Regions from separate parts of the Homo sapiens genome. Here region 2 is linked to region 1. Evidence: promoter capture Hi-C in human tissues and cell types (Jung and others, 2019). All regions are on one chromosome and are shown on one strand. Each heading gives the region's core, a stretch centred on a gene start or on the middle of the fragment in contact. The rest is flanking DNA. Distances are from core to core; before and after follow the strand shown.

Region 1 (4,516 bases), core at 1,492-3,991:
CTGAAAATGTTATGTACCCACTTAACATTTTCAGACTGAATAATCAGCATCTTTGCTGTTGTGGTTTTGCTTTTCAAAGGTAATAGTGGGATAGCTCTTCAAGCTGAAACTCCTGGGATAAAGGAATCCTGGGAGCCAGCATGTAGGATGTGTCCATCTTCATGCTCCGTCTTCACCTTGCACTGGCACTCCTCCACCAGCATCACCACCTTGATCACGGAGGAAAGTTCAGTGCAGTTCAGTGGCAAGTGCATCGTGGTGAACTTGGCAGGCAAACAGTGAGAGCAGGAGGTATGGGAGTGCTGCGCGGCTCCAGGAAAATGAACAGACCCGCATTTCCCAAAGCAAAGGTTGTTCTGAACAACTACTTTTTCACAGCCTTCGTGGGTTATAGTCTAAAAAGCAAACACATTTCCATTACGTTATTTTGAATTATTTCTTTAACACACATAATGCAGAAGCTATGGACTGTAAATCTGAGGATAATTTAAAAATTTCAAAGCTTTCCAATTTTGGATACAATTTGCAATATGCAAGTGATGGTATCTATAAGGGCACAGAACCACCTCAATTAAATTTTCTTTATTGAGTAAATTATTAAACAGCCTTTAGGGAATCCCTAAGTTAACATAAAAAATATTTTACTCTACATTATTCGTGCAAAACCTTAAGCAATTTTGTCTAATTGGATGTGAGCGATTGAAAAATTCTAATGGTAATTATCTTACATAAGTAATGTGCCTTACTTTTTTATTCCTCACAGGGCTTTGTGCATAGTAGGCTCCCAATACATATTTGTTACATTGATCGTAGAATAGATCAGAACATTCTAGGTTTAATTCTATCCTATTCTGCAAGACCTGTAGTACATTCAAGTCTATGAAGTTGTATGCAAGCAGAGTTACAATGCATATGCCTGCAAATCATTGTATATTACATCACCTTTACCTCTCATAACTCCAAGCACCTAGCTTTATATGCCTTTCAAAATATGTAAGAGTCAAACATCTTAGTTTTAATTTAATTAGCAATAGAATTCAAAAGAAGAATTTCAAAAGAAATTTGATTGCCTGATTCTTAGGGGTAATTTTCTAATTGCACATGGCCAACAGAGTAGTCATTATTATTTGATAATTGACTTGCCATTGCTACATATCCTTGCCTTTTCAGGCAGAATACTTAACTGCCTTGAACAGTCAATTGCCCTATTCTATTGCTTGCTTAATTGGGTAGCATTACTCGACTATAAAATTTTACTCTACCCTGCATGTTTTTGGTTCAATATCTTCATGTTTAAGGACCTAATGCAAGTTCTCAATTTTAATTTAACATTTGGAATGTAGATATTGCCAGAGGAAGTAGACAGTAGGATGTCCCTTTGTCTTAATAGCATGGAATTGATCATAATAACTACAAATCAGCCAACACAACATGAATCAGGAGAAAGGTACTTCTAAGGGGAGGAGATATGATCTCACATCAAGATTGATTTTTTAAAAAGCTCATATGAGAAAATAAGTGAAAGAAAATCACTTTTTTGCTATCATAATACTAGAAATGATATGACAACTTTTGCCTGAGAACCTCAACGTACTTTGAGGTTGTGGGATAGCTTTAGCAAGCTATTAAAGAAGTCCCTCATAAACCTATAAAGTAATTAAGTATGGACTATGGGGATTAAGACCATCGTAAATGGATATGAGAGTATTTGGGAAGGAGTCCAATGCACCCCACTTTATCAACAAATGGAGTTGACCTGCTCATCCACATATTAATAGAGTGCAGAAAGATAGCTACAGAGGAGTTCTGGTGATTACTCTAAATTCTCAGTTTCCTAACTGAGGGTACAGTCTGACTTATATCTCTGAGTAGATCACCTCCAATGCAAAAATAAATAAATAAAACAGAGCTCTGTGTCTTCAGTGTGAATGAATGATTACTGATATTGACAGTATCATCATATCATTCTTGCAGCATTTCCACAATGCCAAGAAAAAATGGAAAGGCCAGAAGGAAACTTAATCTTTGCCAAATCCTATGATGAATGCCCAAGGACCAAATCTGTAGTTAAGCTAGAGTCAGGCTCCTGACAGCCTTTTCCCCTACTCTCCATCCATCCCAGCTGTCCACTACCACCTGCAAACTCTTACCTGCTCTCCCCCCAGAACACATACCTGGCTGAAGGGCACTGTCCTGCAGGTCTCCCAATGTACTTCATGGCTTTTGATGGGCAAGATGACCCCCTGAGAAGCCGGAGTTTTTCTGAACATGAAGTGGTGCCAGAATTTCTTGGCTTCTTCCCGAAGAGGAGATTTCTCCATTTTCATTCCATCTATCGGCTGGATGAGGGACTGGGTCCCAGGTGGGAAGGGCTCACTATCTGAGTCCCTGGATGGATGCATTTCTCTCTCAGGCTTCTTCCAGAACCTGCCAAATCTGGACAGCATCTTCTCTCTCTGCCTCTGGCCTTCCCCTGCAGGGCTGGTGGCTACAAGGTGTGGCACTGCGACAAACAGATCTGGCTTCTCCTCAGCTTCCTCATGGTTGCCTGTGGGAAGCTCTCTTTGATTCCTTGGCAGGAGTACGGGGGAAAGAGAACTCTGATTCTGGCGGCCATCCTGGTGCCGTGTGGTCTTTCCTAGAGGCAGGAGTACCAGCAGCTGAAATAAGAGGAGATGCATGCTGTCAGGGGCCCAAGCTTCTTTTGTAAATGATGAGGCCCAAAGGAGAGGCTCATTCTCTGCAGGACTGGGAAAAAGGAAATCGTATATATAGATACCTGCCTGGCGGGATGGGAAGGCAGGTGGTCAGTAGCCAGGCAGAATAAACACATTTATTGTTTGCTTGAATTATGTAGTGCTAATGGCCTCCTGCCGTCACTTTGGTTTTGTGTATTTTAAAAGGCCCCAGTGAAAGCCTGGGACCCAGGGGGTAATTAGCTAAGAGTTTAGCTATGTCTGGGGCTTAAAGAGCAGTATTAGCAAAGACAACACATTCTTTGCCTAAATTTCCCATGGCTGTTTTCAGAAGAAGGACTAGAGTCAGCTCACATTTGCTGTGCATCTGCCTTGTGCTGGAATAGAATAGACAAGACATGTTGCTGTAAGAGAAGTTTTTGGATAAAAATTAAAGGCATACATTTAGAAAAAGCCCAGGCCTTTAGGAAGGCTATTCACACACACACACACACACACACACACACACACACACACACACACACGAAGAAGTATATCAAAGTTGTAAGGAGAAGAAAGGAAGAGCTAGAAGGATGTTAATTTTTTTGAGCAAGGGACATATTGTTTCTTACTTACATGCAAATTGGGGTTATTGATTTTTGCACAGTAACTGAGTAAAGGGAATATGTTTTCCTTTCCACACGTAGAAACTCACAATTCCCAAGTTAATCCTCTCACATTAAGAATCAATTAATGGGTGCTAAATTTCACAACTGGTCAGTCATCAGATAAACTCTTCCAATTGTTCACATGTTCCTCAACAGGATACCACGTAATAGACTGACAGCTCATCAGTCTTCAATGAGGATAGGGAAATGTCTCCCTCCAGCCATCCTATTGATTTTTTTTTCCCTTTGAACAAAGAGCCAGACATGAGAACGTGGATTCTAAGAACCAGGTTTGATAACTTTGTGTGTGACGCTGGCTAGTCAGTTTCTTACCTTATTGAATCCACATCATCTCCCCTTGTTTTACACTAATTGATGGCCAGGCTAAATAAAGATTGACACAAATAAGAGTCTTCGGGGATCAAAGGAAAAATTGAAAAATAACTATCATTCAAAACTATCATGAATCAGCCTAGGATACGAAAAAGAAACACGTCCAGAAAACTGAAACCCCAGAATAGAGTCCGATCAGCCTACCACATGATTCAAACAGTATTTCCACTGGGAAGCAATGCAATATCTGCTTTTATTTCTCCCCTTTTAATTCAATCACTATATTCCTTGCTTTCAATAACACAAATAGTCCTGGAACATGTTCCCCCTTTTTTGTCAATACTGATTAAACTTTCTTTCCAAGAAGTGACCCACTGGAGTCTGTTTTCCAGGCATTTCTGTTCTTCTTGATAGCCATGCCTGATTTCTATGAAATAAAGCCTTAAGTAAGTCCCTTTACCCATGATAATGAGCTATTTTTAACATGGACCATCACTTTACCAGAATGCCATGAGTGGAGATATATTGTACTTGTACCAAATATCTATGGAACGTGTGCTAGTATTAATGAAAGGTGCTGTTGATATATAATAAATAAGCATGTGTATTTGCCATTGTTTTTTTTTATTTTAGGAAAAGGGTTCTGCTCTGTTGCCCAGTCTGGAGTGCAGTGGTGCAATCATAGCACTCTGTAACCTCAAACTCCTAGGCTCAAGCAAGCCTCCTGAGTAGCTGGGACTACAGGCACACTACCACACCTGGCTATTTAAAATTTTGTGTTGTTGTTGAAACAGAGCCTCACTCTGTTGCCCAAGCTGCTCTGAAACTCTTAGCCTTGAG
Region 2 (4,516 bases), core at 872-3,371, 120 kb before region 1:
GAAACCATCATTCTCAGCAAACGCTCACAGGAACAGAAAACCAAACACTACATGTTCTCACTCATAAGTGGGAGTTGAACAATGAAAATATATGGACACACGGAGGGGAACATCACACACCAGGGCCAGTCAGGAGGTGGGGGAGCTAGGGGAGGGATAGCATTAGGAGAAATACCTAATGTAGGTGACGGGTTGATGGGTGCAGCAAACCACCATGGCAAGTGTATATCTATGTAACAAACCTGCATGTTCTACACATGCATCCCAGAACTTAAAGTATAATAATAATAATAAAAAGAACCTAACAGAAATATCGGAACTGAAGAATTCAATGAATGAAATAAAAAAATTCAATAGAGAGCTTCAACAATAGACTAGATCAAGCAGAAGAAAGAATTTCTCAACTTGAAGACAGGTCATTTGAAATAATTCAGTCAAATTTAAAAAATGAAGAAAGCCTACAATGACACAAGGGACCTCATAAAGTGACAAAGTATTCGCATCTTGGGAGTTCCATGAGATGAGATGGCCAAAGGCACAGAAAACTTATTTAATGAAATAATAGCTAAAAACTTCCCAAGTCTTGCCAGAGATACAGGCATCTAGATAGACAAAGTGCAGTGATTCCCAAGTATATTAAACCTGAACAGGTCTTTTCCAATGCACACACCATATAGTCAAACTGTCAAATGCCAAAGCCAAAGGAAATAAATCTAAAAGCAGCAAGAGAAGAGCATCAAGTCACATATAAGGAAATCCCCATCAGACAAACAGATTTGTCAGTAGAAAATTTATAGGTCAGAAAAAATGGGATGACATTTTTAAATTGCTGAAACGAAAAGAAACATACTCACAACATGAATGAATCTCAAAAATATGCTGAGCAAAAGCCAGTGAAAAACAAAGGACAAAAGCCAGGCACAGTGAATTGCACTTATAATCCCAGCCACTCGGGAGGCTGAGGCAGAAGGCCTGCTTGAGCCCAGGTGTTCGAGGTTACAGTGAAGTTATGATCATGCCACTGCATTCCAGCAGCCTGGAAAACAGAGAGAGAGACTTCATCTCAAAAAAAAAAAAAAAAAAAAAAAAAAAGGGAGAATTTCATTCATGCGAAATTCTGTAAAAGGCAAATCTAACTTACAGTCACAGAAAACAGGTCCGCGTTTCCTGGAGGGGTGGGAGTTGAGGGGGAGCAGTAAAGTGGCCTGAGGAAACTTTTTGGGTGATTGAATATTCCATATTTTGAATATGTTGATAGCTACATGGATATACATATTTCTAAAAACTCACTGAAATGTACTTAAAATGAATACATTTTGTTGTGTTTAAACTATCCCTCAATAAAGTGAACTTTAAAAATGGAAGACAGAAAATAATGTATTAAACTCCAAATTATATTTTTAAAAGTATGATAGGAAATAAAAACATAAATTCTTATGTCAAATAGGAGGAGTTACCTCCTATTTGAGGTACCATTTCTTACATGAATATTACAATTAGAAATATATAGGTAAATCCTCCTGAAATTTTTAAGATAACCACTGGAAGAATTAAATGCATGCTATACTTCAAGGACACAAATGACACTGCAAATCAGATGTGAAAAAATGTGCTAAACAAAAAATTGTTGTGGTATTTTTCCCCAGTGTGGTTTTTACTTCTATGAAGACCCAGTAACAAGCACAACCGTAACATGAAAGATTTGGATTCAACCACTTTTACATAAACGCAACCAAAGCTCGTTAATCTACCCTCATGTGATATATAAATTACTGAGCTAATCTTGATTTGCTAGATAAATAAAATATGAAAATAAGATCTCAACAGGCAATACTTATTTTTATAAGGACTTTACAAATTTATCTACCTGTGAAATATTTAGAAAAAGGGAATCGCTGCTCTTTATTAAGAAACAAATACAATCAAGTGGATCCTGAACTTTAGAGGGGTCGAACTCTAAGTATTCAGTAATGTGGTTTATCTCTGGCTACCTCATAAGAGCATAATTTTTTATTCATATTTATAGTCGTAGATGTTGACTCATCCCTTGATTTGCCTTAAGAAAATATATCCTTCATGAATTATTGAGTTATTAGAGTCATGTTTTTATTCACTTTTTCTCTCGATATTTACAAAGACTTTTTCCAGAAAATTACATTAGATTCCTGGCAAATCGATTGGACTGACAAATGATGCAGGAAGCAGCAAAAATATGTATCAATAACAAATAGGAAAAACTCATTACATAGGGTTAGTGAGGATGTGGGGGAAGATGAAACAATATATATGTTGGTTGGAGTGTAAATTGGTTTGACTAAAGAGCAATTTGGGAAAGCTTTTACAGTTGAAGATGCACATACCTTACCATTCCACTATTTCACTTCTCTTTGAACAAGTTAATAACAAAGGAAATAATCCACTTAGTGAATAATATATAAACTACAGTTTATTCAAATAATTGTTCTGTGGGATTTATAATGAATGGCCCAAATCTACATTAATAAAGATGTTTTGTTTAAAAAATGTGATGCTGATTAAAATTTACATAAATGTAAAATTTGAAAATAGTATCATTTATGGATGCTACATACATCATAAAAGCACAAAAACATTCATGAAAATAATTCACACTGACTTTAGGATGGCGGCTACCTCTAGGGAGGAAAACTGCAGGTTGAGGACTTAGATGTATCTGTAACATTGCATGTTTTTAGAAAACAAAGTGAGAAAACTGAAAAAAGCAAAACATTAGCATGTAATTAATCTTGGTATTTTTAATTACACAAATTTAGTAAACTCTCCAGTTATTATTTTTCATACTTCACATTACTTTTTATTGTGGCAAAAAGCACATGAGATCAATCCTCTTAGTAAATTTTTAAATATACAGTACGGTACTGTTAAATTTTAAGTATAGTGCAGTACTATAAGCATAATGTTATACAACAGAGCTCTAGAACTTTTTAAACTCGCGTGACAGAAACTCTATACCTTTTGAACAGCAGTTCCCCAATTCCCCCTCCCCACAGCAGCCACCATTCTACTGTTTCTATAAGTTTGACTACATTAGATACTTCATATTGGTGAAATCATGCAGTATTTGTCCTTCTGTGGCTGGCTTATTTCACTTAGCAAAATGTTGTCAAGGTTCAAGCTGCAGCATCTGACAGTATTTCCTTCCTTTTCTATGGCTGAATAACATTCCATTGTACGTATATACTAAATTTTCTAAATTCATTCAACCATCAATGGGCATTTAGGTTGTTTCCATCTCTTGGCTATTATGAATACTGCATTAATGAAATGGGGAGTGCAAATATCTCTTCCAGATCCTGGTTTCATTTTTTTTTTTTTTAATATCCAGAAGTGGGAATCCTGAATCATATAGCATTTCTAATTCTTCTGAGGAACTTCCATACTGTTTTTCAAAACAGCTGCACCATTTTACACCCCTAGTAACAGTACATAAGGGTTCCAATTTCCCCACATCCTCACCAACACTATTTTTTTCAAATGGCCATTCTAACAGTTGTGAGATAATACCTCGTTGTAATTTTGCATCTCTCTATTAGTGATGTTGAGCATCCCTTCACGTACCTGTTGGTCATTTGTGTGTCTTCTTTGGAGAAATATCTATTAAAGTCCTTTGCCCATTATTTAATCAGTCTTTATATGGATTTTTTTCTTCTATTAAGTTGTAGGAGCTCGTTTTGTATTTTGATTAACCTCTTAGCAAATATGTGGTTTGAAAATACCTTCTCCCATTCGATAGACTGCCATTTGATTCTATTAAGTCTCCTTAGCTATGCAGAAGCTTTTAAAGTTGATGCAGTCCCACTTGTCTATATTTGCTTTTGTTGCTTGTGCTTTTGGTGTTATCTCCAAGAAGTCAACAATGTTATGAAGATTTTCCCCTATGTTTTCTTTTAGGAGTTTTATACTGTCAGATCTTATGTGTTGTTAATATTTTGTCCATCTGAAATAATTTAGTTTCTCACTATACAATATTACAGAAACAAGTTTCCAAAAATGTACAAAACATTGAAGTTTGTAAAAATAAAGCTACACTGGGGTTTATGAAAATAAACTTCAAATGGATTCAAGGGCATAATAGTTAAAAAAACAAAAATATCAAAGTTTTCTTGAAAAATGAAGGAAAATACATAATCTTGATTTAGGAAAGACCTTTCTAAACAAGGTAATAAAACCCAGAAGTCATAATAAAAAGTACTAAATTTCAAGGTAGTTTAATTCTTCCATACAACATGATGATTGGGCAAATTTAATTTCCAAAGATGTCCTCAACAATATCTCCCATCCTATATACTTTTCCTGTGAAGTGTGACTCTGACACTCTTCCCATGAAATGGAATTATGTTCTCTCCCGCTGACTCTGGATAAGCTTGGGACTACAGGTTTGTGACTTCTGAAGCTAGGTGACAAAAAGTGACATAGTTTCTTTCTGGTTGTCTTGGGCCACTGTCTTCTAGAACCCAGCCATCATGCTGTAAGTAAG

The links. The method cuts DNA at HindIII sites, captures the fragments that hold promoters and counts their contacts. A contact is called where the count stands out against the background at its distance.
Region 2: a contact is called between a fragment that was not itself captured here and the fragment with the promoter of CER1 in region 1, in 3 of the 25 tissues and cell types used here (dorsolateral prefrontal cortex, hippocampus and stomach).

Annotation. Positions count from the first base shown.
Region 1 is chr9:14,719,992-14,724,507 of GRCh38, forward strand. CER1 (cerberus 1, DAN family BMP antagonist) reads right to left here and starts at 2,742. Exons shown (of 2, transcript NM_005454.3): 1 at 2,175-2,742; 2 at 1-395. The coding sequence starts at 2,681. The coding sequence ends at 99. RefSeq lists enhancers at 1,890-2,829, 2,830-3,767. The HindIII fragment of the contact is 6,126 bases long and covers 1,601-4,516 here.
Region 2 is chr9:14,601,864-14,606,379 of GRCh38, forward strand. It overlaps a transcript of ZDHHC21 not described here. Among named protein-coding and RNA genes, the nearest start is that of ZDHHC21, 89 kb to the right of the region's middle. The HindIII fragment of the contact is 3,974 bases long and covers 135-4,108 here.